Linked DNA regions of Homo sapiens: regions 1, 2, 4, 5, 6 and 7 are each linked to region 3. The links are contacts of gene promoters, found by promoter capture Hi-C in human tissues and cell types (Jung and others, 2019). All regions are on one chromosome and are shown on one strand. Each heading gives the region's core, a stretch centred on a gene start or on the middle of the fragment in contact. The rest is flanking DNA. Distances are from core to core; before and after follow the strand shown. Region 1 has its middle 19 kb from the start of NEMF. Region 2 overlaps LINC01588 (long intergenic non-protein coding RNA 1588). Region 3 holds the start of L2HGDH (L-2-hydroxyglutarate dehydrogenase). Region 4 overlaps NEMF (nuclear export mediator factor). Region 5 overlaps NIN (ninein). Region 6 overlaps ATL1 (atlastin GTPase 1). Region 7 holds the start of SAV1 (salvador family WW domain containing protein 1).

What was found. Contacts are between HindIII fragments. The study calls those that stand out against the background at their distance.
Region 1: a fragment that was not itself captured here is called in contact with the fragment with the promoter of L2HGDH in region 3 in 2 of the 25 tissues and cell types used here (H1 embryonic stem cells and lymphoblastoid cells).
Region 2: a contact is called between a fragment that was not itself captured here and the fragment with the promoter of L2HGDH in region 3, in 1 of the 25 tissues and cell types used here (pancreas).
Region 4: a contact is called between a fragment that was not itself captured here and the fragment with the promoter of L2HGDH in region 3, in 2 of the 25 tissues and cell types used here (H1 embryonic stem cells and aorta).
Region 5: a fragment that was not itself captured here is called in contact with the fragment with the promoter of L2HGDH in region 3 in 1 of the 25 tissues and cell types used here (aorta).
Region 6: a contact is called between a fragment that was not itself captured here and the fragment with the promoter of L2HGDH in region 3, in 1 of the 25 tissues and cell types used here (hippocampus).
Region 7: the fragment with the promoter of SAV1 here is called in contact with the fragment with the promoter of L2HGDH in region 3 in 1 of the 25 tissues and cell types used here (heart right ventricle).

Annotation. Positions count from the first base shown.
Region 1 is chr14:49,870,270-49,873,621 of GRCh38, forward strand. No RefSeq gene overlaps it. Among named protein-coding and RNA genes, the nearest start is that of NEMF, 19 kb to the left of the region's middle. The HindIII fragment of the contact is 9,165 bases long and covers 1-3,352 here.
Region 2 is chr14:49,992,427-49,995,756 of GRCh38, forward strand. LINC01588 (long intergenic non-protein coding RNA 1588) reads right to left here. Exons shown (of 4, transcript NR_126498.1): 2 at 352-447. Among named protein-coding and RNA genes, the nearest start is that of LINC01588, 13 kb to the right of the region's middle. The HindIII fragment of the contact is 5,718 bases long and covers 1-3,330 here.
Region 3 is chr14:50,310,121-50,313,659 of GRCh38, forward strand. L2HGDH (L-2-hydroxyglutarate dehydrogenase) reads right to left here and starts at 2,109. Exons shown (of 10, transcript NM_024884.3): 1 at 1,891-2,109. The coding sequence starts at 2,030. It overlaps DMAC2L (distal membrane arm assembly component 2 like), which reads left to right and starts at 2,204. Exons shown (of 6, transcript NM_001382507.1): 1 at 2,204-2,269. RefSeq lists silencers at 2,169-2,298, 2,359-2,588. The HindIII fragment of the contact is 14,916 bases long and covers 1-3,539 here.
Region 4 is chr14:49,809,254-49,812,582 of GRCh38, forward strand. The region is part of intron 18 of NEMF (nuclear export mediator factor); the gene reads right to left. Among named protein-coding and RNA genes, the nearest start is that of NEMF, 42 kb to the right of the region's middle. The HindIII fragment of the contact is 4,499 bases long and covers 1-3,329 here.
Region 5 is chr14:50,727,076-50,730,488 of GRCh38, forward strand. NIN (ninein) reads right to left here. Exons shown (of 31, transcript NM_020921.4): 29 at 2,448-2,648. Among named protein-coding and RNA genes, the nearest start is that of SAV1, 60 kb to the left of the region's middle. The HindIII fragment of the contact is 9,275 bases long and covers 1-3,413 here.
Region 6 is chr14:50,617,027-50,620,196 of GRCh38, forward strand. The region is part of intron 8 of ATL1 (atlastin GTPase 1); the gene reads left to right. Among named protein-coding and RNA genes, the nearest start is that of SAV1, 50 kb to the right of the region's middle. The HindIII fragment of the contact is 3,466 bases long and covers 1-3,170 here.
Region 7 is chr14:50,666,897-50,670,435 of GRCh38, forward strand. SAV1 (salvador family WW domain containing protein 1) reads right to left here and starts at 1,410. Exons shown (of 5, transcript NM_021818.4): 1 at 978-1,410. The coding sequence starts at 1,071. RefSeq lists an enhancer at 408-477 and silencers at 838-967, 1,078-1,647. The HindIII fragment of the contact is 8,992 bases long and covers 1-1,966 here.

The DNA.
Region 1 (3,352 bases), core at 509-3,008, 440 kb before region 3:
ATAGGTACTTGCTAGGGGATACATTACACATACAGTATGTCATCACAATTCACATTGTTAATAATTAAAAATATATTCTGTTACACTATGGTTTATGTGTATGATTTTTTTTTTCCTGAGATGGAGTCTCACTCTGTTGCCCAGGCTGGAGTGCCGTGGCACGATCTCGGCTCACTGCAATCTCTGCCTCCTGGGTTCAAGCGATTCTCCTGCCTCAGCCTCCCGAGTAGCTGGGATTACAGACGTGCACCACTACGCCTGGCTAATTTTTTTTTTTTTTTTTGTCAGTAGAGACGGGGTTTCGCTATGTTGGCCAGGCTGGTCTCAAACTCCTAACCTGAAGTGAACCGCCTGCCTCGGCCTCCCAAAGTGCTGGGATTACAGGCGTGAGGCACCGTGACCAGGCAGTTTATGTGTATGATACATTTCTTTTTTGAGATAGAGTTTCACTCTTTTTGCCCAGGCTGGAGTGCAGTGGTGTGATCTTGGCTCAACTCAACCTCCACCTCCTGGGTTCAAGTGATTCTTCTGCCTCAGCCTCCTAAGTAGGTGGGATTACAGGCATGTACCACCACACCCAGCTAATTTTTTTTTTTTTTTTTGTATTTTTAGTAGAGACAGGGTTTCTCCATGTTGGTCAGGCTAGTCTCGAACTCCCAACCTCAGGTGATCCATCCGCCTAGGCCTTTCAAAGTGCTGGGATTACACGTGTGAGCCACCGCGCCCGGCCTATATGTATATTTTATGACCAAAGGAATTCACACTTTTCTCAGTGTTTGCTTTTAGGGCTAATGAACTGGAAAAGCAGTCCAATTTATACAGAGAATACTGAAGGCACAAGCTGCCTGTGTCTGTTCAGCTGAAACCCCTTGCTGACAAGGTTCTAATTCATTTTGTGACACAGCTCATTTTCCAAGGGGGAGTATAGCCTAGGGTGTGGCAAGAAACAAATAAAGGCAAAACCACTACACATTAGTTAGAATATTGTTAAAAGAGACAGTCTATAGTCACTGTGATGTATGGATAAACAATATTGCATATTACAAGAGTATTTGTATAATCAAAACCATTATATACAAATGCTATTATGATTTATCATTATAAAAACAAATATTAATGTTCTTGTACATTATAATAATAATATAAACTAGAAGAGTGATTTATCCCCTTTTGAGCATAAGATTTATTAAAATAGTAGGTCCCTTTGTGCATTCATTCATTCATTCATTAACTCTACATCATTAGTCATTGGGGAAATGCAATCAAAACCACAAGAGATACAATTTCTTACCTACTAGGATCACGAAAATAACAACAGCAAAACAGAAAATAACAAGTGTTGAACTGGGCAGGTGGTGCATGTCTGTAGTCCCAGCTACTCAGGAGGCTGAGATGGGAGGATCTGTTGAGCCGAGGAGTTCCAGGCCGGCCTGGGCAACATAGCAAGACCTCATCTGAAAACAATGAAACAAACAAAAACAACAAAGAAAAGAATAACAAGTGTTGGCAAGGATGTGGAGAAATTAGAACTCTCATACATTGCCAGCGGGAATGTAAAATAGTGCAGCTGCTGTGAAAAACAGTTTGACAGTTCCTCAAAAATGTAAACATACAATCACCATATGATTGAGTGATTCCACTCCTAGGTACAGACCCCACAAAGAACCAAAAGCAGGTACTCAAAGAGATACTCGCATTAATGTTTGTCACAGCACTATTCACAATAGTCAAAAGGTGGAAACAACTCAACTGTCCATCAACAGATGAATAAGTAAACAAAATGTGATGCATATTCATATTCAGCCATAAAAAGGAATAAGGTTCTGACGCATGCTACAACATAAATGAGCCTTGAAAACATGTAAAGTGAAATAAGCCAGACACTGAAGGACAAATAAATCCATTTGTGTGAAATCTGTAGAATAGGCAAATATGTAGAGATAGAAAGTAGACAGAGGTTGGGAATTAGGGTAGGGAATTAGGAATTTTTATCTTATCTTACTTTTCATTTTTTTGAGACAGGGTCCTACTCTGTCACCCAGGCTGGAGGGAAGTGGCTCACTGCAGCATTGAACTCCCCTGGCTCAGGTGATCCTCCCACCTCCAGCCTCCAAGGTAGCTGGGGCTACAGGTGTGCACCACCACACCTGGCTACTTTTTGCATTTTTTTTTTATAGAGATGGTGTTTCACCATGTTTCCCAGGCTGGAGTTATTACTTAATGGGTATAGAATTTCTGTTTGAGGTGTTGAAAAAGTTTTGGAAATAGTAGTGATGGATGTACAATATTGTGAGCGTAATTGATGCTCCTGAATTATACACTTGAAATGGTTGGCCGGGCGAGGTGGCTCACGCCTGTAATGCCAGCACTTTGGGAGGCCGAAGCGGGCGGATCACAAGGTCAGAAGATAGAGACCATCCTGGCTAACATGGTGAAACAACCCTGTCTCTACTAAAAATACAAAAAATTAGCCAGGCCTGGTGGTGGGTACCTGTAGTCCCAGTTACTTGGGAGGCTGAGGCAGGAGAATGGCATGAACCCGGGAGGCGGAGCTTGCAGAGAGCTGAGATCATGCCAATGCACTCCAGCCTGGGCGACAGAGCAAGACTCCGTCTCAAAAAAAAAAAAGAAAAAAGAAAAAAAGAAAAGAAAAGAAAGAAAAACAAAAAAGAAAAAAGAAATTGGTTAAAATGGCAAATTTTATGTTACATACATTTTAACAGTTGGGCATATCTGTGTGGGTTCATTTCTGGGTTCTCTGTTGTGTGTCACTGATCTGCTTATCCCTCCATCAAGATGACAAAGTCTTGATTACTAGCTATGTGATAAATATTAAAATTGGGTAGACTGATTCGTCCCACTTTTCTTTTTGAAAATTGTTTTAGCTATTTTAGTTCCTTTGCATTTCCATATAAATTTTAGAATAATCTTGTCTATATCTACAAAATAAATCTTGCTAGGATTCTGATAGGAATTGCACTAAACCTGGAGGAAATTGACATTTTTTTACCATGCTGAATCTTCCAATCCATGAACATAATGTATCTTCCCATATGTTTGGATATTATTTTATTTCTTTTGTGTTTTGTAGTTTTTGATATATACATTCTGTATATTTCAATTTTTTGAGTGAATACAAATATTGTATTTAAAATTTTAGTGTCCATGTGTTTATTGCCAGTATATAAAATACAGTTGATTATTATTATTATTATTTGTTTTTTTGAGACGTAGTCTCACTCTGTCCCCCAGGCTGGAGTGCAGTGGTACAATATCGGCTCACTGCAACCTCGGCCTCCCAGGTTCAAGTGATTCTCCTGCCTCAGCCTCCTGAGTAGCTGGGATTACAGGT
Region 2 (3,330 bases), core at 557-3,056, 320 kb before region 3:
GAGACAGGACAGGTAAGTTTTGATCGTGAGGAGGGAAGAGGCCTAGGAGTTGGGCATAGGGTGATGCCCAGAGAGACTGCACCTGCATGAGTCCCTCAGTGAGGACCCGGGGTGGGCTCTTAGTTCTTTGAAACTCAGAAAGGGAGACTGCTGTGAGGGCTGCATTTGGGGACTTGAAGCAGTGCCTGTTTTGCCGTCTTATGAGGGCAGGCTTTGTAATTGGGGTTTCCAGTCCCCCAGTTAGGAAGTCTCTGGGGGAAAGATGACTAGAGTCTGTGGTTCTTGATTTGGGCTTGGAGAGGATTTGGGGGTAAGATGCTAGGAAATGAGAGTGAAATCTCTGAAACTTACAGGAAGAATCTTCCCCAGTCCAGCTTGTCTGCTGCTCTCCTGACGCTGGAACAGCTTCTCAGGAGTTTTCCATTTTTCATGGCACAATTCTTTCTCCTGCAAGGATAAGAGAATAAGAGCTTCATAACCCAAATAGTTCACAGCGTGGTATTCGCCTCTATTTAAAATCATCTCCCATTGGGTTCAATTAACAATGTACATGTCAAATTATGTCACACCCATTACTTGCTCTAATTTGGTCAGGCTGGGTCAGGCAGTCCCTGAACTGATGGAGCTGTTAACCTCCCAGCAGAGAGTCACGGTGGCTGTGCCTGCACTGCCCTTGGCCTTGGCTGTGTCAGGGCAGAACACTGTACTGGGAAAGTACCAGGCAGTGCTGCAGGAAAGGTCAAGTTCGTGACGACAGTGACCAGTCATCAAGCCCTTTACCAGAGCTTTGCCTCTAGAGATGACTATGTGAATTGAATCGTGGCTCTGTCATTTAGCAGCTGTGTGATCTTGGGCACGTGAACTTTTCTGAGCCTCATTTTCCACATCTGTAAAATGAGACTATTATAACACTTCATTTATATTTATACTTTTAATTATATTGATATTTATTTCACTAGGGTTGTAGTGAGGATTAAATGCCATAATGCATGTAAAGTGTTTTGCATAATGCCTGGCACTTAGGATTAACTCAATACCAGCTATTTAGTAGTAGTATTTAATTTTTAAAAAATCTTGTTTGGTCCCTCAAAACTGGGATTCCTTCTGAGATCACATTCAGGAAATATTTCATCAGCCCTCAAGAAACTCGGAGAAGACAGGCAGTCTTTCCTGGAACGGGTAGAGGGGAACCAAAGGATCTGCAATGGTACCTAGACATCAGGATTATTAATATGTGTGCCAAGAGCAACCCTGACTTTAAGAACACCTCTGTGTGGGCACAGAAAGCTTCTTTTTCTGCCTTGGGGTTTCACAGGTCAATCAATCTGTGTGGTCAATCTTTGTGCGGTCAATCTGCAGAGCCCCAAGGGAGAAGGTAGAAGGGTGCTGGGCACTCTCTCCATTTTAAGTAGAGGTAAACTGGCTGGGCGTGGTGGCTCACGCCTGTAATCCCAGTACTTTGGGAGGCCAAGATGGGCGGATCATGAGGTCAGGAGATCGAGACCATCCTGGCTAATACGGTGAAACCCCGTCTCTACTAAAAATACAAAAAAATTAGGTGGGCGTACTGGTGGGTGCCTGTAGTCCCAGCTACTCAGGAGGCTGAGGCAGGAGAATGGTGTGAACCCGGGAGGCGGAGCTTGCAGTGAGCCGAGATCGCGCCACTGCACTCCAGCCTGGGTGACAGAGCGAGACTCCGTCTCAAAATAAATAAATAAATAAATAGAGGTAAACTGAGGCACAGAGAAGTCTCCACACACATGTACAGTACTTTTCATCCCCTCTCAAAAAACAAGGGAAACTGTACTAATTGTAGAGCTAGAGGCAGAATCTCTTGCCCAGAGAGACTTGAGACTGAGGCCAATATTGGGGAAAATTACCTTGGTTTACTTTACAAGCACAAAGGCTATGCTTCTTACCCTCTCTCCACATCCAAAAATCTCTGGGGTACATCGGCAGCCTCCTTTATGGTACATCCAGGAGATAGATAGTGTGTTGTGGAAAAAGCCCTGGGTTGTAGTCAAGAAACTTGTCCTGTAATCCCAGTCCTGCGAAACCAGCGATGTGGCCTTGGAAATGTCACTGAACATAGTACTGTACTTGAGAAACTGAATGGAAGGGTTTGGGCTACACCAATGGTTCCCAAACCTGGCTGCTCATGAGAATCTATGTGTGTGCATATGTGCATGTGTGCGTGTGTGTGTGCTGGGGCAGGGGTAGCTGGAGCCTAGGAATCTGTATGTTGTTTTTTGTTTGTTTTTTGAGACAGAGTCTCACTCTGTCACCCAGGCTGGAGTGCAGTGGCACAATCTTGACTCACTGCAACCTCCGCCTCCTAGGTTCAATTGATTCTCCCACCTCAGCGTCCCAAGTAGCTGGGATTACAGGTGTGAGCCACCACGCCTGGCTGGAATCTGTACTTTGGAAATGTTTACATGATTATCAAGAGCAGTCACTGTTGGGGACCCTGGGAGCAGATGCTTTCTAGAGTGTCTTGCTAGGCTCTAACATTTTCTGACTCCAAAGCCTCTTTCAGCACATTCCACACAATTCAGTCCAAAGGCGATGTCAGCCCTCACAGTCAGCTCCCATGAGCAAATCAGTGTGTGATTCCGCATGTACCAGGCTGTCTGTGTGCTCGGGCCCTGGGTCCTGTCTGTTTCTTGGTTAATTTGGCATTGAAGCCTGCATCTTGGGCTCACCTGGGGCCAGTAGCGCCTGGACCCTGACTTGCTCCAGAGGGGCCTTCTTGCCATTGTGCTGTGGTCTAGAACACCAGCTGCACCTGCCCTGAGTCCAAGAGCAGATTAGGAAACCTGACCAGCCTCCCCTGCACCCTTGAGGCCAGCGTCCTTCACAGGAGTTTTGAATTCACAGAAATGTGTCTCCAGCTGTCTCAGAGTTATGAAAAGTCTCTGTGTTAATAAGGAGCTATGGAACGCCAGGGCTAAAGCTGTCTTTAACTCTTCTTTCAAAACATTCAATCCTGACATTCTTTGGCTTAGTAAATGGGGAGGAGGCTTTTGCATTTGTGTGGGGGCGAAGGAAGGCATAAACTGCGGCTCCCAGGGCTGACTTCTGTCCAGGAAACACAGGTCTAGACGTCCTCTGAGTGGCAGAGAGAACAGGAGAGTGGGACTCTGTGGTGGGAGTGACACTGTGGCCCCTCGCCTGCAGGACACTCCAAGCAAGTGGGGTGGGGCTGCATGGGTGAGTGTTGGGGTGCAGTGAGCAGAGGAGGGGGTGCTGTGTGCTCACCCACCATGTGCTCTTGCCCACTACTGTTGGGTAGGACCACAATCTAGTGTTGCCAAACACGGTGAAACTTGT
Region 3 (3,539 bases), core at 859-3,358:
GATTTTGCCAATATCAATTTCCTAGTTTTGATATTGTACTATAGTTATATAAGATGTTTTCATTGGGGTAAATGGGGTGAAGGGTACATGGGATCTCTTTGTACTGTTTATTTATTTTTATTTTTTATTTTGTAGAGAAGGGATCTTATATTTTGCCCAGGCTGGTCTCAAACTTCTGGGCTCAAGTGATCCTCCTGCCTCAGCCTCCCAAAGCACTGGGATTACAGGCCTGAGTCACCACGCTTGGCCTGTACTATTTTTGCAATTTCCAATGGATCTATAATTACTTCAAAATAAAAGTATAGGCCAGGCACGGTGGCTCACACCTGTAATCTCAGCACTTTGGGTGGCTGAAGAGGGAGGTTCACTTGAGGCCAGGGGTTCGAGACCACCCTGGGCAACGTCTCTACAAAAAAATAGGAAAATAATTAGCTGCCTGTGGTCCCAGCTCCTGGAGGACAGGAAGCATTGGGGAGGGGGGCTGAGGAGGGAGGATCGCTTGAGCCCAGGAGGGTGGAGGCTGCAGTGAGCTATGATTGTGCCACTGCACTCCAGCCTTGGCAACACAGTGAGACCCTGACTCCAAAAATTTTTTAAAAAAACATTTTAAGTATAAACAAAACTTTCACTAGCCCTACTTTTCTTTCCTTAAGAAAAGCTTCCCAAAAGAACTGTCCACATGCCCCATAACAAATCACAATCGCTATTACTGGTATCCCACTCTACTCCCCCTATCCACCAACACGCAGCAGCCAGAGTCAACTTTTAGAACATCAACATTTAATTATTAGCCTCTTCTTTTTTTCTTTTCTTTTCTTTTTTTTTTTTTTTTTTTTTTTGCGAGACAGAGTCTTGCTCTGTCGCCCAGGCTGGAGTGCAATGGTGCGATCTCAGCTTACTGCAATCTCCGCCTCCCAGGTTCAAGCGATTCTCCTAAGGCTCCGGAGTAGTTGGGATTACAGGCGCCCACCACCACGCCAGGCTAATTTTTTTGTATTTTTAGTAGAGACGGGGTTTCACCATGTTGGTTAGGCTGGTCTCCAACTTCTGACCTCAGGCGATCCGCCCGCCTCGGCCTCCTAAAGCGTAGCCTCTTCTTAAAACCCTTTTAAATAGCTTCCCGTGGCTCTTAGAATAAAAGTCAACGTGTGGTTAAAATAAACTAAAAACCTTGCTGTGATGTAGTCCTTCTGGGTCATTCCACACCATATGTCTTCCACTAAACTTCAGTCACACTCATATGGCCCACCTTCTAGTCGTCAAAATAGCCAAAACCTCTCCAAGCCTTACAGCCTTCACACAAACTGTTTCTTCTACAGAGGACAGAGAAAGACAATGGTTTCGAATGTGACGTCCAAACTATAAATCACAGGACACTGAATTCTGCGGGCTTTCATTAGCATAAGAGCTGCCTCCGACGGGGGCAACACTATGCGGGGTGTGCCAGGAACTGATTTAAGACTGTATTCAGATCTTCCAAGCAACGCCAAAGACTCCAGCTTATAAAGAGCATATTTGATTGCTTATACTGTGTGCTAGGTCCTTTTATCCTTCAAATGACCACCTACAGGAGAGACTAAGGTCCAATTCACAACTGAGCCTTTAAGGAGGTTAAGTAACTAGCCCAGAGTTCAACAGAAAGTGGACGGGTTGTTCAAAGCCAGAGCTACTCCCGACCTCTACTCTATACACTGCCTTTCCTCCGGCCCGTAAATACAACGAATGAACCTGCAGGTTGGTAGCTCCTGGGATCCGAGGTTGGAGTGCCACAGGACCCCAACCTGCTCTCACCCCGGGACAGGGAAATACGAACAGGGGCACAGGTCCACCACCAGGTGCCTCCGCGAGGGGCAGCAGCGCAGGCGGCGGGGAGGACCAGCGGCCACTCACCTGGTGCTGGCGCTGCGGCTACCTCCACACAGCGGTCTTGGCCTCCCAGACGCGAACCCGCACGCCCCAGGGGAGCCACCGGCGAAAAGCCCGCGGGCCCGTCCGCAGGCACCAACCAAATAACGCAGCGCTGGCACCATCCCCTACGCACGCTCCCCTCCCTCAGCGCTCAGAAGAAGCCACTTGACCCTCCACGGCCGAGGACCCGCGCTCTTTAGCCCCGCCCCTCACGCGGGGGCCAATGAAGTGGCGCGCCTTCGCCCCATGTGGGAGAGGCTGCGGTGGCCAATAGGCGCGCGCGTCGGAGGGCGAAGGGCCGGCCAGGGTGCCGCAGACGCGGGGACGCTGGCTCGCTCCCTCCCTCCCTCCCTCCGACGCTGTGAGTAGAGAAGCTAGGCCCCGAGCCGGGCGGGACTAGGGTGGTGGTTGTGTTCTGCCCTCGCCCGTCGCCAACGCTGGGCTGACTGAAAACCTGGCCCTTTGGGTCGCGCGTCTTCGACCTTCACCGCCATGCGGACATGGGGCCGTGGGAGAAACTCTGGGCGGGATTACGGTGAAAATTCTTGTTTGGGCGGGCCCTGCGGCTTCTTTCTTCCGGCTCGCCCTCGGCCCCGCCCCCGCCCCGCCCCCGCTCCAGCTCCAGCCGGGTCCTCGCTCGGCCCCGCACGCGGCCCGCGGTAGACGGAGGGCCTGGGCACCCACCGTCTCCATCCCGGCCCCAGCCCAGTCGAGCGTCCACTAGAAGGGCGCTCCCTGTCCGGCCCTAATCCTCGCTCCTCACGGAGGCTCTTTGTCACAGCGAAGACTGACAGCCCGCAGTCTTCTGGACTTCTTTTATGGGGCTCCTGGCGGTGCTATTCATTCAGTCATTGATTCGTCTTGTAAATATGGAGCGCCTGCTCTGTACTCGACCCGGCACTGGGTACCGGAAGAACCAGACAGCTCGGTTTTTGCCACCATTTATAAGTCTGTGTCCTTTTCTTGAGTACTGAACCGAGATACAGTTTTAAATGTGCTGTGCGGTCTCTGAGCAGCGACTCACCTGTGCAGGTCACTTCACCTGATTCCCTTTATGTAAAAATGAGGGCGATGGGCTGTGTAATCTCTAAAGGACCTTCTAACTCTTTAAAATTGTCACTGTGCCGGTGTTGCTAACACTCATTCTGTATGCTTGATGGCAGTTTTTAATTTTTAGGGTTAGGACAGCTGAACATAACAAATAGAATTATACAGATTTATTACCAGAAGGACTTCGTGTGCCTCTAAGAATCTTGGTTCCAGTCTTTGGTCAGGTAGCTCCAGGAAATCACTTCACCTCTTTGCCTCAGACCCTCCTCAGTGAACTAGGAATGATAGCAGTGTCTCCCTAGTCTTAGGGCCGTTGAGCGGATTACACGAGATAAGGTCAGCAGGTGTTTAGCACAGTGAAGCATTTGCTACGTGATGACATTTATTATGGTTAAAGGGTTTTACCACCAGAACAGTGGTACATAGTTTGCTTTATTTGTTAAAACAATGTAGAATATTGCCTGCTTGTTCCATCACAGATGAAAAAAAGAGATGGTTATTCAACTTTGTGAGGTAATTGTGGATTTCCATGCAATTGTAAGAATAGAGATTCTGTGTACCCTTTACCCAGTCTTCCCAGT
Region 4 (3,329 bases), core at 360-2,859, 500 kb before region 3:
CCAAAACATGGGGGCAACCAAATTCAGTAGATTAATGGATAAACTGTGGTTCATCCAGACAACTGAATATTATTCAGGGATAAAAAGAAATGAGCTATCAAGCCATGAAGAGACATGGAGGAAAGGTAAAAGCATACTACTAAGTGAAGAAGCCAGCCTTTAAAGATCAGTGGTTGTCGGGGGTTGGGGGAAGGGAGGGATGAACAGGCAGGGCACAGAGGACTTTTTTAGCACAACCAAACTAAATCTGTATGATAATACAATGGCAGATACATGTTTTACACATTTGTCCAAACTCAAAGACTATATACATCAAGAGTGAACCCTGGCTGGGCTTGGTGACTCATGCCTGTAATCCCAGCACTTTGGGAGGCTGAGGTGGGCAGAACACTTGTCAGGAGTTCGAGACCAGCCTGGCCAACATAGTAAAACCCTGTTTCTTCTAAAAATACAAAAACTAGCTGGGTGTGGTGGCACGTGCCTGTTAATTCCAGCTACTCTGGAGGCTGAGGCAGGAGAATCGCTTGAACCTGGGAGGCAGACGTTGCAGTAAGCTGAGATTACGCAACTGCACTCCAGGCTGGGCAACAGAGCGAGACTCTGTCTCAAAAAAAGAGAGTGAACTCTAATGCAAACTATGGACTCTGGGCCATAATGATGTGTCAATGTAGGTTCATTAGTTGTAACAAATGTACCGTTCTGGTGGGGGATATCGATAATAGGGGAGGCTACGCATGCATGCAGCAGGGGGTATGAGGGAAATCACTATACATTCTGCTCAATTTTGTTGTGAACCTAAAACTGGTCGAAAAAAATGTCTATTTAAAAAAAGAGGCCGGGTGCGGTGGCTCGTGCCTGTAATCCCAGCACTTTGGGAGGCTGAGGCGGGCGGATCACAAGGTCAAGAGATCAAGACCATCCTGGCTAACACGGTGAAAACTCGTCTCTACTAAAAATACAAAAAATTAGCCGGGCGTGGTGGAGGGCGCCTGTAGTCCCAGCTACTCGGGAGGCTGAGGCAGGAGAATGGTGTGAACCCAGGAGGCAGAGCTTGCATGAGCCGAGATCACACCACTGCACTCCAGCCTGGGTGACAGTGCAAGACTCCATCTCAAAAAACCAAAAACAAAAAATTAAAAAAAGAAAAAAAGAAAGAGGAAATTCTATCCCCATTGGTCTTGGCACCCCTGCTGAAAATTAACTGACCATAAACTACAGGTTTATTTCTGGAATCTCGATTCTATCCCTTGATCTATTTGTCCATCCTCATGCCAGTACCAGTGTCCTGATTACTGTTACTCTGTAGAAAGCTTTAAAATCAGGAAACATGAGTCCTTCAAAATTTGCTCTTCATTTTCAATACTGCTTTCGCTAATCTGAGTCTCCTTGCATTACCACATGAATTTTAGAATCAGCTTCTCCATCTCTGAAAAAATAAAATAAAATAAAATGCAGGGCCAGGGGCAGTGGCTCATGCCTGTAATCCCAGTACTTTAGGAGGTCAAAGTGGATGGACTGCTCGAGCTCAGGAGCTCGACACTAGTCTGGACAACATGGCAAAACCTCATCTCTACAAAAAACACAAAAATAAGTTGGGCACAGTGGCAAATGTCTATGGTCCCAACTACTCAGGAGGTTGAGATGGGAGGATCGCTTCAGCCTGAAAGTTCAAGGCTGCAGTGAGCCAATCGCACCACTTTATTACAGCCTGGGTGACAGGAGACCCTGTTTCAAAACAAAACAAAAAAAGCAGCTGCAATTTTGAGAGGGATTACAGTGAATTCCTAGATTACTGGGGAGTACTGCTATCAGAACAATATTAAGACTTCCAATACATATACATGGGATGTCCAATTTAGGTCTTTAATTCCTTAAAATAATTTTATAGTTTGTTATCTATAAGCGTTGTAAGTCTTTTGGTAAATTGATTCCTAAGTATTTTATTCTTTTTAATGCTAATTATAAATTGAATTGTTTTATTAATTTCCTTTTCAGATTGTTCACTGGTAGTGTACAGAAATACAACTGATTTTTGTTTACTGATCTCATATCCTGGACATTGCTGAACTTGTTTATTAGCTCTGATAATTACTGGTAGATTCTTTAGGTTTTTTAAATGTGTGTGACCATATCAACTGTAAACATAGGTAGCTTTACTTTTGCCTAATTTGGATTTTTTTTTCTTTTTATTGCCTAATGACCTATATAGAACCACCAGTATAATGTTAAATAGAAATGGCAAGAACAGACATATTTGTCTTATTACTGATGGGAGGAGGAAGGTACCCAATCTTTCAGCATTAAGTATGATTGTTAGCTGTCGGTTTTTCATAAATGCTTGTTTACCAAGTTGAGGAATATCCCTTCTATTCCTAGTTTGCTGAGTGTTTTTATCACAAACAAATGTTGAATTTTGTCAAATGGTTTTTCTTCATAAGTTGAGATAATCCATGTGTGTTTTTTGTCCTTTATTAGTAGATTATATTACATTAATTTCCATATACTGAACCAAGCTTTCATTCCTGAGATAAATTACGCTTTGTCATCGTATATAGTCATTTTAATATGCTGCTAGATTCAGTTTGCTAATATTTTGTCAAAGATTTTTGTCTATATTTATAACCGGTATTGGTCTGTAGTTTTCTTGTGTTATCTTTGGTTTTGTAATACTGGCCTTGTAGAATGGGTTAGGAAGTGTTCCCACTGATCCTATTTTTTGGAAGAGTTTGTGAAGAACTGGCATTCAACCTTCTTTATAATTCACCAGTGAAGCCATCTGGCCTAGGGTTTTCTTTGATGAGTATTTTTTTAATGTTTTTCTTTATTATTAATCCAATCTCTGTACTTACAGGTTTATTTCAATTCTCTATTTCTTCTTGAGTCAGTTTTAGTATTTATATCTTTCTAGGAATTTGTCCATTTCATCTAGGTTACATAATCTGTTGGTATATAATTGTTCATGGTATTCCCTTATAATCCTTTCAATATCTGTAAAGTCGGAAGTAATGTTCCCTATTTCATTCCTGATTTTAGGGATTTGAGTCCTCTATTTTCTTGGTCAGTCTAGCCAAGGGTTTATCAATTTTGTTTATCTTTTCAAAGAACCAACTTGGGTTTTGTTCATTTTCTCTATTTTTTTCCTATTCTCTGTTTTGTTCATTTCTACTCTAATATTTACTATTTTCTTCCTTCTCCTTGCTTTGGGTTGTTTTTCTAGTTCTTAAGGTGCAAAGTTAGGTTACTGATTTGAGATCTTTCTTCTTTTTAAATATAGGCATTTATAGCTATAAATTACCCCCTAAGGGCTGCTCTTCTTGCATCTCATAAGT
Region 5 (3,413 bases), core at 19-2,518, 420 kb after region 3:
AAGGCCTATATTTAAAAAAAAATAATAGCTTTTTAAAGTTCAAACATAAATACAAAATGATGTCTATTTGCCCAACAAAGCAAAACAAAAAAAAAGATAATTCAAAGAACATAGAGTTGGCAAAAGAGTGGAAAAACAGGAAAAACAAAGGCAGTCATATACTTAAAATTTATTTTATTGTTTCATCAAAAATTTCCTGTCAAAAAGATTTGTACATCTTATACAAAACAGTATAAATACCCCTGGTTTTCTTCAAATTCCATATATAAAAGTAGTACCTTTGGTTAAAAATAGTTACAACATATGGAATGAGAAAATATATAGACTACATCCTTTCAAGAATCTTAAATCCACACTCTTTAAAGGGTATAAATAAAATGATTTGTAACAAGCTGATGTTTGTGAATTTGATTCACAAGATCTGTCATTTCTACATAAATAAATAAGAGACATAATACTGCAAAGGTTTAACAGTAAAAATAATAAAATAATTTAAAAGAGCACTTAATTCCAACATATCTTAGCTTATGTCTCTGTGTGTGGTGTGTGTGCATGGGTGGGTGTGTGCATCTGTCTGCCATGGTAAGAAATGCCATCAATAGCAGCCCAGTTTTCACAGGTGCCCAATCCTTCTGTAGGAATCTGCGTGCACTGCTCGCTGCTCCGGTAGCAAGGCCTAGAGAAAGAAGGCAAGTAGTACACTTCACCCTCATGTCAGGATGAGTTTTTAGGGGGAGTCTAAATTCACACATCTACAATGCAAACAATTTTTAAAAGCACACACATTAACACTACATAGGCAAGCAAAGCAACACAAAATGCAGAAGAGATCACATCACTCCACACACAGAAACGTGCAGATTTAACAATATTCTGCATTCTTAAAATTAGTGTCAGCTCAGCAGCGGGAAATGGGAGAGCCTGCAGTAGCATTCTGGTGAGAGTAATAAGCCGTCCACTCTGTCATCTGGTTGGAGGATTTTTTTTTTCTTTCAAAAATCTTAGTTTTTGTCTAATCCTGAAGGAATTGGAGGAAAAGGATATTTTTTTTAACATTGGTGGGTGGGTTGGAAACAGCAGGCTTTGAAAATAGGGTGTAAGAGAGCAATGAGAAGAATCTTGGCGGATCATTTGGTTAGAAGGTCCACTAAAAACTGAGATCAAAGTTTTGTAGTTCAATTATATACTGGAGAGTTAAAGCATCTAACACTCTACCATCACAATTTAAGAACTTTAATACTGGGAAGTTGAAGAGGTATGTATAAAGCTTCCAAAAACAGATTTTAAAGCTCATAAAACAAAAACCTTCTAAAGTTTATTAGAAATACAGCATAGGTACATATGTAGAGGGAAAAGTTTATTAGAACTGACAAGTGGTAGGAGTACTTCGTAATTAAACATAGATGGATAGTAGAAGAAACAGAACTGTTCCTATGTAGAGTTCCAGAGCTAATGTGACTGCAAAGCCACTTTGAGGGGATTCAAATAAGAGATAGGAAATTCCTTGTCAAGCATTAACTGAGTGGCAAGGTATCTGAACACACAAGCGCATGCAAACCAGAAAGGATTAATGTAGAATTCCACAAAGAAGGACTTTTTATTTTATTCCTAGTTCTGAATTAACTAAATAGGCAAGCTGCAAGAGTTAAACTTCTGAGAAAGGATGATGAATGAAGCATTAAAGAGAAATAACTCTGAATACTTGAAAACCTAAGTAATATAAGATTGGATGTGGTGGTGAGCTGGGATCATGCTAATGCAAACAATGAAAAGATTTTTATTTTCTTAAATAGTTTTATGAACTATGTCAACTAGAAAGATGTCACTGACTATACACTCTATTTGTTGTGAAAAGTCATCACTTGTGATTTTCATGGGATGCAGCAGGCTGCACGGCTCTGGCACAGGAAAGCTCAGTGTACTTTGTTAGTAGCGCATATCCTAGCAACATTTAAATTCTGTAATATTTTTGGCATGGGATGGGAACATCAGGCCAATTGTGCGCTGTGTTTAAGTGATCCTGATACTTCATCGTTTATTACAAATGGGCAAATCGTCTATTACAGAACACTAAATGACTCAGCTTAGAAGCTGAGAGCTCAAAAGTAGCACCGCAGTTCTATGGATTTGTCATACAGGTTAAATATCTCTCTGAAAGAAGATTTAGGATTGTGATTTTGTTTTTTTTTTTTTTAATTTAAGAGATGGAGTCTTGCTATGATGCCCAGGCTGGAGTACAGTGGCTATTCACACACATGATCGTAGCTCACTGCAGCCTTGAACCTCTGGCCTCAAGCGATCCTCCCGTCTCAGCCTCCCAAGTAGCTGGGACTACAGGTGTGTGCCATTAGATTTAGGTTCTTTCTCTCCACCTTTGAACTGGTATAACTTTCAAATAAACAGGTAAAATTAACAGGTGATCTACTAGAGTAGAGAGAGCTTCATACCTGTGGTGTGTTGGTTTCGGAGGTCCTGTTTTCAAGTTCCTCCTGCAGGTGCTGGTTTATCCTTTCTGCCTGCAGCAGCTGGCGTTGAAGCTGCAGAAACTGCTCCCTGGGCACCATCGGACAGGCTTGCTGCTGGAGCAGCTGCAAATCCCAAGCATGAGGGGACGGGCTAGGCGTCGCAGTGGACCTCAGGTGCTGCATCTGAAGGACAAGGGCAAAGCCCTGTTCAGCTGAGTCCCTTCAATCCCAGAGCTGCCCTTTATGGTGTCAGGCAGTGAGTAATGAAGACTATTAATTCATTAATAACCCCAGACCCACTGAAACTTGGAAACAGGACAGCATATGGGCCCGAGGAATACAGAAATGAGAAAAGCTATTTCGCTTAGCAGAGAATATGCTTAATAAGTAGGCTTTCTTAAAAGTTTTAGGCTTAAAAAGCCCTTCCCAACTCTGGAGTGATATTAAGGGCACGATGTACATAATACATGTGAATTCTATTTCATTTTTTCTTATACTGGAATAATTACCTCCCCCCTTTTAAAAACGGGTTGGAGAAAGTGGCTATGCTTTAGGGTTTTACCACTTTACCATTCATAAAGATTGTTAAATGTTCAATGACTATATTTTTTCCAACCCCAAGTTAGCAATTTTTTTTGGAAGAACCTCATCTTGCATCTAAAATTATTTTAACCTACCTTTAGTTTATCAATATGTAATTATACCCTTAGATTAAACAGCACAAGACAGACAATTCTGGGGCATAAAGCAATAATATCCTAGAACATCTGGGAACTGGAGAACATGGAATGGAAGTATTCAAGACAATGAGGAAATGTGTACCAACATGCCAGTCAAAGTGGGGGAGAGGAAAGGGAGGACGATGCACAGCATTTTGGGCAGTGAGGCAGGCCACCTCACATCTATACACACGCGGAGCATGCAACAAACATTACCAAGACTAAACTC
Region 6 (3,170 bases), core at 235-2,734, 310 kb after region 3:
AAAAGTTGTTCTTTGATAATAGTTTCTCATATACTCTTTCACACACAGAAATAACTTTCTAGCTCATTATCAATAGTAACCATTGTTATAATAACTATTTGTTCATGGTCCCTCAAAGTATTGCAATTATTATTGTCTTACCTATTTCTAGTGTTATTAAAAACTGATAATAATATGATTAAATTTAACTACTGTTAATTTAAGAACTTCCCAAAAGGAAATGAAAAAGATTAAAGGTACTGAATCACATTCATTTATGCTTCATTCAACCAGCTTTTATTGGGTGCTTACTGAATACCTACCCTAGCACAGCAGATACAATTTTTTAAATAACAAGGAGTTATCCTTTTTTTTCTTTTGAGGTTGCTCTGCGTTATAGTACCATATGTAGAATGAGCAGGTAGCCACATTATAAGATGTGGAGCTGCTTCCTTAGCAGCTGCAGTTAGACTTGAGAATGCATAGTCAAATGCGTGTTTCCAATCACTTATCAGAATCAGGAAATCCTGAGAAAATATCTTCCTTTGTTAATTTATACAGCAATACTATACTAGTGCATCTGCCCTGTGGAGTTCTTATAAAGCATACATCGTATTCTCAATTATTGTGTCAGGTAACCACCACTTTGACCAAGCCCCTAAAGTCCTTGGAAGATTTTGCCCTTGTGGAAAAAATTACTGAAGAAAATTACTGAACATAATTCTGAATCAGCTATTCATATATATTAATTGACCACTTGCAAGGCCAAAGCTTATTAATGCCCCTCGGCAAATCGATTTGAACTGGTTTGCAGATTTTCTGGTTCATGTCTTTACTGTGTTCAACTAACATTAGCAAGAGCTCACCACCTACGTATGTTATGAATATATTGTTCTTATTTTCTGAATCCAAAATTGGAATACCTAGCATTGGTTCCAATGAGAACAAAGAGGGCTACTGCCATCTTCAGACACATTTTTAATCCAAATGTATGGTTAGATGCTGGTTACTTTAATGATAATTAATTACCACACTTGCTGGTGCATTAACACACAGTCGTATCTTATTCCATTCCAATTGTATAAGGAATGTTTGGGGGCAGAAATTTATATACAAGTTCTGAAAGTGATTTTAAAGTGGTTTTATAAGAAGAAAACTTTGTTTTATTCAGAAACTGAAGAATTCATACATTCTAGGTGTATAGTAATATTCTACTAAAGATGAAAAAACGTAAAATCATATAGCAAAAAAGAAACCTATTAGTGTCAGTGAATACAGATACATGGCAGGCAATAAAACACAAAACAGGAACGTGGTAACATAAATACAAATATCAGTATTGTAGTCCAGTGAATACTAGTAACTAAAAAGCAAACCACAATAATAAATCTATATATAGTACAAAGCAAAATTATCAGTGAAAATTGGTACAATGCAAACAGCAAAATAAGTGAATAAACTCCACTGCAAGTACCTGTAAATCACGGTCACTAGAATTTCAAAGTGGCACAAAACATGAAACAAAATAACTTGGAAAGATATCCAGCATCATGCTTGTGTGTGTTATAAAAGAAGTAAAGAAAACAAATTCTAACATAAAATAGTATTTCAATGTAGCCCCAATGTTATAACTGGGGCTATAATAAAGGGGAAAATGCAAACACAGTCTTAAGTTTTGAATCTTTAAGGCCTTCAAAATCACCAACCCCAAAGCCTGAAAACTCTAACTCTGCTAAAATTTAGATTTTTAAAAATTACAGGCAGTTACTGAATTTACTTAGAAATCAAGCAAGTCACTGGACAGATCTTGCTTTTTTACATAGTATGTGTATTTTTCCATATATATATAATGTATGTGTGTGTGTGTGTGTGTATATATATATATATTTTTTTTTCTTTCTTTGAGACAGGGTCTTGCTCTGTCGCACAGGCTGGAGTGCAGTGGCACAATCTTGGCTCACTGCAACCTCCGCTTCCTAGGTTCAAGCGATTCTCCTGCCTCAGCCTTCCGAGTAGCTGGGACTACAGGCATGTGCCACAATGTACAGCTAATTTTTTTTATTTTGAGACGGAGTCTCCCTCTGTCGCCCAAGCTGGAGTGCAGTGGCGTGATCTCAGCTCACTGCAACCTCTGCCTCCCGGGTTCAAGCGATTCCCCTGCCTCAGCCTCCAGAGTAGCTGGGACTACAGGCATATGCCACCCACGCCTGGCTAATTTTTTTTATTTTTATTTTTAGTAGAGGTGGGGTTTCACCGTGTTAGCCAGGATGGTGTCGATCTCCTGACCTCATGATCCACCCGCCTCAGCCTCCCAAAGTGCTGGGATTACAGGCGTAAGCCACTGCACCCAGCCGTGTACAGCTAATTTTTATATCTTAATACAGACAGGATTTCACCACGTTGGCCAGGCTGGTCTCAGACTCCTGACCTCAAATGATCCACCTGCCTCGGCCTCCCAAAGTGCCGGGATTACAGGTGGGAGCCACTGCACCCGGCCCCAATTTTTCCATATATTTGAAATAACAATTTAAGAAATTGTCCCTGTGTTCAGAAGACTTCTCTCGTGATCTGTTTTCTATATTACTTTGCTAAGTCTGTAATGTTAAGCTTTAACCTACTGCTACAGCTTGGGTTATGTGTAATCAATTATATCAAACATGACAACTACATACTCATACTACCTCTCATCTGCTTAAGTGGCCTTTTCTTGCTATTTTATTTTGTGTTGCTGAGTTCCACCACTAGAGGTAGCATCATTGTCACTATCTTTTTGAACTCTGCAGTCCAGTTACCACAGCTTACCCAGTTTTGTACAGTTCTTAGAAGGTGGGCACGCTATGCACGGAGCAATTTTTGGATACATTTTCTGGAGGGAATGCATTATAATAAGCCAGTAAAAATCTGGTCTCTTCCCCATTTATGAGCCTATATATATAAAACCACAAACAAGACTTAAAACATGAACTGGTTATGGCTGGGCACGGTGGCTCATGCCTGTAATCCCAGCACCTTGGGAGGCCGAGGCGGGAGGATCATGAGGTCAAGAGATCAAGACCATCCTGGCCAACATGGTGAAACCCCTCCTCTACTAAAAATACAAAAATTAGCTGGGCATAGTGGTGTGTGCCTGTAGTCCCAGCTACTCAGGAGGCTGAGGCAGGAGAATTGCTTGAACCCAGGAGGCAGAGGTT
Region 7 (3,539 bases), core at 160-2,659, 360 kb after region 3:
TGGTTATGATGGAAAAACATGCTCTCCCATCTGTGTGATCTTGGGCAAATACTAGAAACCTAACTTTCCCAATTACAATATGAGGTAATACTTAAGTCACAAGGTTACTACCAGCTTCCAAGAAGGAAACTTAAGCAAAGGGCCCAGGGCGCAGTAAGAGCACCAAAATACCAGCTCCATGCCTCACAAATGTCCTGAACACACAAGAATTAAAAATTCAAGAGATTCAACTCAAAAATCAAATACTTACATTAAGAAGAAAAGCAGCGGGGGACCGGAGGTGGGGATTGGGAGTGGGATCTACCCTATTAAAAAAAAAAACTTTTCGAGGGGGGGGTTCTCTAATACGATAGAAATTATTTTGAGTTGCCTTCTTGGAATCTCACGAATATAGCCAAATACAAAGGCTTTTGGCTCTCTGCTCTGCTGTGTAAGAGTGATGAGGCTTTGGGTGGCGGCTACAAGAACGACGGTATGCTTTTCACCTTCTCAAGTCTGCATCCGGCAGCAGGACTAAGGAATTCTGCCCCAGAGTTCGCACAACTTGCAGCACAGTCGAGAGACACCCGCAATGTTTGCAAACATGACGCACATCTCGACGCATCTAAAAGAGTAAAAAGTGTCCCTGTCTAATTACTTTTACTCCTATAGCATTAGGTGATAAGCAATTTAAATGTTTCCTACTCTCTCTTCCAGTAATCAAAACCAACAACTCTGCCTGGTGGGGCGAGGAAGTCTGTTATTTTTAGGGGGTGCTCTTGGGGGGGTTAGGCGCGGGGGGGACTAACCCAAGTTTCTTACTCTTATGGGCTTTCAATCAACGAATACCACTTCAGACACAAGAAAATCTCAAAACCAGTATTTCACGCGACCAAGGACGAAGGAGAAGCCCTGGAGACCCGCCGGCGCCCCCGCCAGGGTCCCCGGAGCACCTGGCCGCCTGGGCCAGGTGTGGGCACGCCCCGCCTGACACTCACTCCGAAGCAGAGGCGACGTCTCCTTCTTCACGTACTTCCCCTGCACCTCGGCCGGCTTGGACACTTCGTTTTTGGTTTTCTTTCGGGACAGCATCCTTCTCGACGAGGCCCGAGGCCGCGCTGAACTGCCTCCCTAGGGCTCCGCGCCGGGCGCCGGCCGTCTCCGCCGCCACCTCCGCCGGCGCCGCCGCCTCCTTCCCTCCCGAGCCGCCGCCTCCGCCGCCGCCTGTCCGGAGCCCGGGGTCGCCCGCAGGGACTGCCGCATGTTCAGGGCGCTAAGCGCGCCGGCCGCCGCTCAGTCGCTGGTCAGTTCCTTCCCGGAAGTCGGCCCGCTCTGCGACGCTGCTCGGGGACGCCGTGAGGAAAGCCCAGCGACGCCGGGCCAGGGCCAGGGCCATGGTCCGCCGCGGGCCGCCGAATAACCGCTACCACTACCGCCGCCGCCGCCTACATCCCGTAAACTTTCCCCGCGGCCGCTGGGAATTCTGGGAAGCTCGACGCAGCGCGGGCCGCCGCTGCCCCTCCCCCACCGCGGCTCCAGGCGCGGCTCCGGCGGCGGGACTCGGGTGCCGGCGCTCTAGGCTACCGGGCCGTCCCCGCCGAGCTGCGGCTGTCCTCACTCATCCTCAGCGAGAAGCAGGTCCTGCCGACTGAGAAGATGAAGGACGAAACCTGCCCCGCTGAGTGCGGGAGTTCGTCGCATGCGCATGTCGTGGAACCTACTCTCCACGAGTTTTTATTGTTGTTGCTTTTGTACCCCCTCGGGATCCCTAGCGGAGGCAGTGACTCTCTTTCCCCCCAAGACGTTGTTCCCTGTTTGAAGGTGTTCTTCCTAATGTTTCCTAGGCTGCTGAATTCAGCTCTCTAAAAAATGCGGAATGCTAACCATGACTCCCAGGCAAGTGCTACACCAAAGCATCTATTCTGCTGGAAACGTTCATGCTGATTAACTAGAAATAAGTTGATCCTCTACTGAGTATCAGGGAGTGCGTTTTTCTATAACAGGAAAAAACGGAAGAATGCAAGATGGAATTTCCAGTACCTCTTTTTAAGATACAATTGGTGTTAGCATATTACAATTATTTTATTGCATCATCACTATCATTAGTATGATTAATAGCCACATATTTCCTCCTGACGTTATGTGTTATGATCTTAGAATTTTGAAGACTTTGACCACTGCGAGTCGGGACCGGGAATTTTCTATCTAAAATAATAGACTCTACTTCCTTCTATATAACTTAGCAAGACTGCCAAATGTACAGGATAACATTTGGAAAATAAGATTGGATTCATCCCCTAGTGACCAAATTAATGCTTTAATAATGAGGAATGCTTTCCCTGAGATCTAAAACATCTCACAAGAGATCTAAGACATATATCACAATTAACAAAAGACATGGAATTTTTTACCACGTAAGATTAAGAAGATGGTCAAATGTTTTACCATGAGCAAACAAAGGAGACATTTGATCTAGTGTCTGTCTCCATATGTTCCCTTGGTGCAGATCTCCCACAATTCATTCATTAACCAGGAAATACTCATTACCCACTGCGCTAGTCGTTTGTGATAGAGCAATAAGCAAAACAGACAAAAATCCCTACTGTCATGGGAAAGAGAAAAAAATGACAAAAAATAAGCAAAACATACTATGTTAGATAGTGATAAGTGATGAAGTGAAAATAAGAGAGGACTCACAATTTTTGAGAGGGTAATAGAGGGACCAGAGAAGGCTCATGAGGAGGTGACATTGGAGTTAAGTGACAGAGTGAGGAAATTGGCCATGCAGCTAACTGGAGGAACAATATTCCAGGCAGAAAGAACAGCAAGTGCAAAGTCGCTGCAAGTGGCCATGTTCCTGGCAGATTGGAGGAACAGTAAGAGGGTTTATGTACTGGAAAAGACGGGGAGACGAATGGGGAATGCAGTTAGAGAGTAACAATAGCCACGGCACCTAGGGCTTTGTAGGCCATTGTAAGGAATGTTACTTTGAGCAGAGGAGTGACATGATCTGAGTTAATGTTTTCATAGGACTGCTTTGGATGCTGTGTGGAGAGTAGACAATGGAGCTAAGGGCAAAAGGGAGATCAGTCAGAAGTTATTGCTGGCTTGGACCCAGGCAATAATAGGTGGAGAGGTAAGTGGACATATTTTAGACATATTTTAAAGAAAGCCAACCAAATTTGCTGACATTGAATATGGAGTGTGGGAGTATCAATCACTGCCATGGGTATGAAAATCTTAATAAACAGAATTGGAACTCACTAGAAGCAGAGTGTACTCTGAGAGAAACATTAGAAAAACAGTTACTTGTTCCTGTGGTTCAGAAATAAGGACGAGTCCTAAAGCGTTGATAGTGTGCAGGGAGAAGAAAGAGTGATGAAACTTAAGTGAGAGCACAATGGGGTTTTGTTACACATCAGGGTATGAAGGCGGGAGCTGAAGGAGGAAGGGGGAGCCAAAGAAGTGCCAGGTTTCTGCCTAAGGCTTACCTCAGAGAAGGACAAAAGGATATTAGCATCTTGTTAATAAAGGCAACTCTTCACACCTGGAGTTTTCCC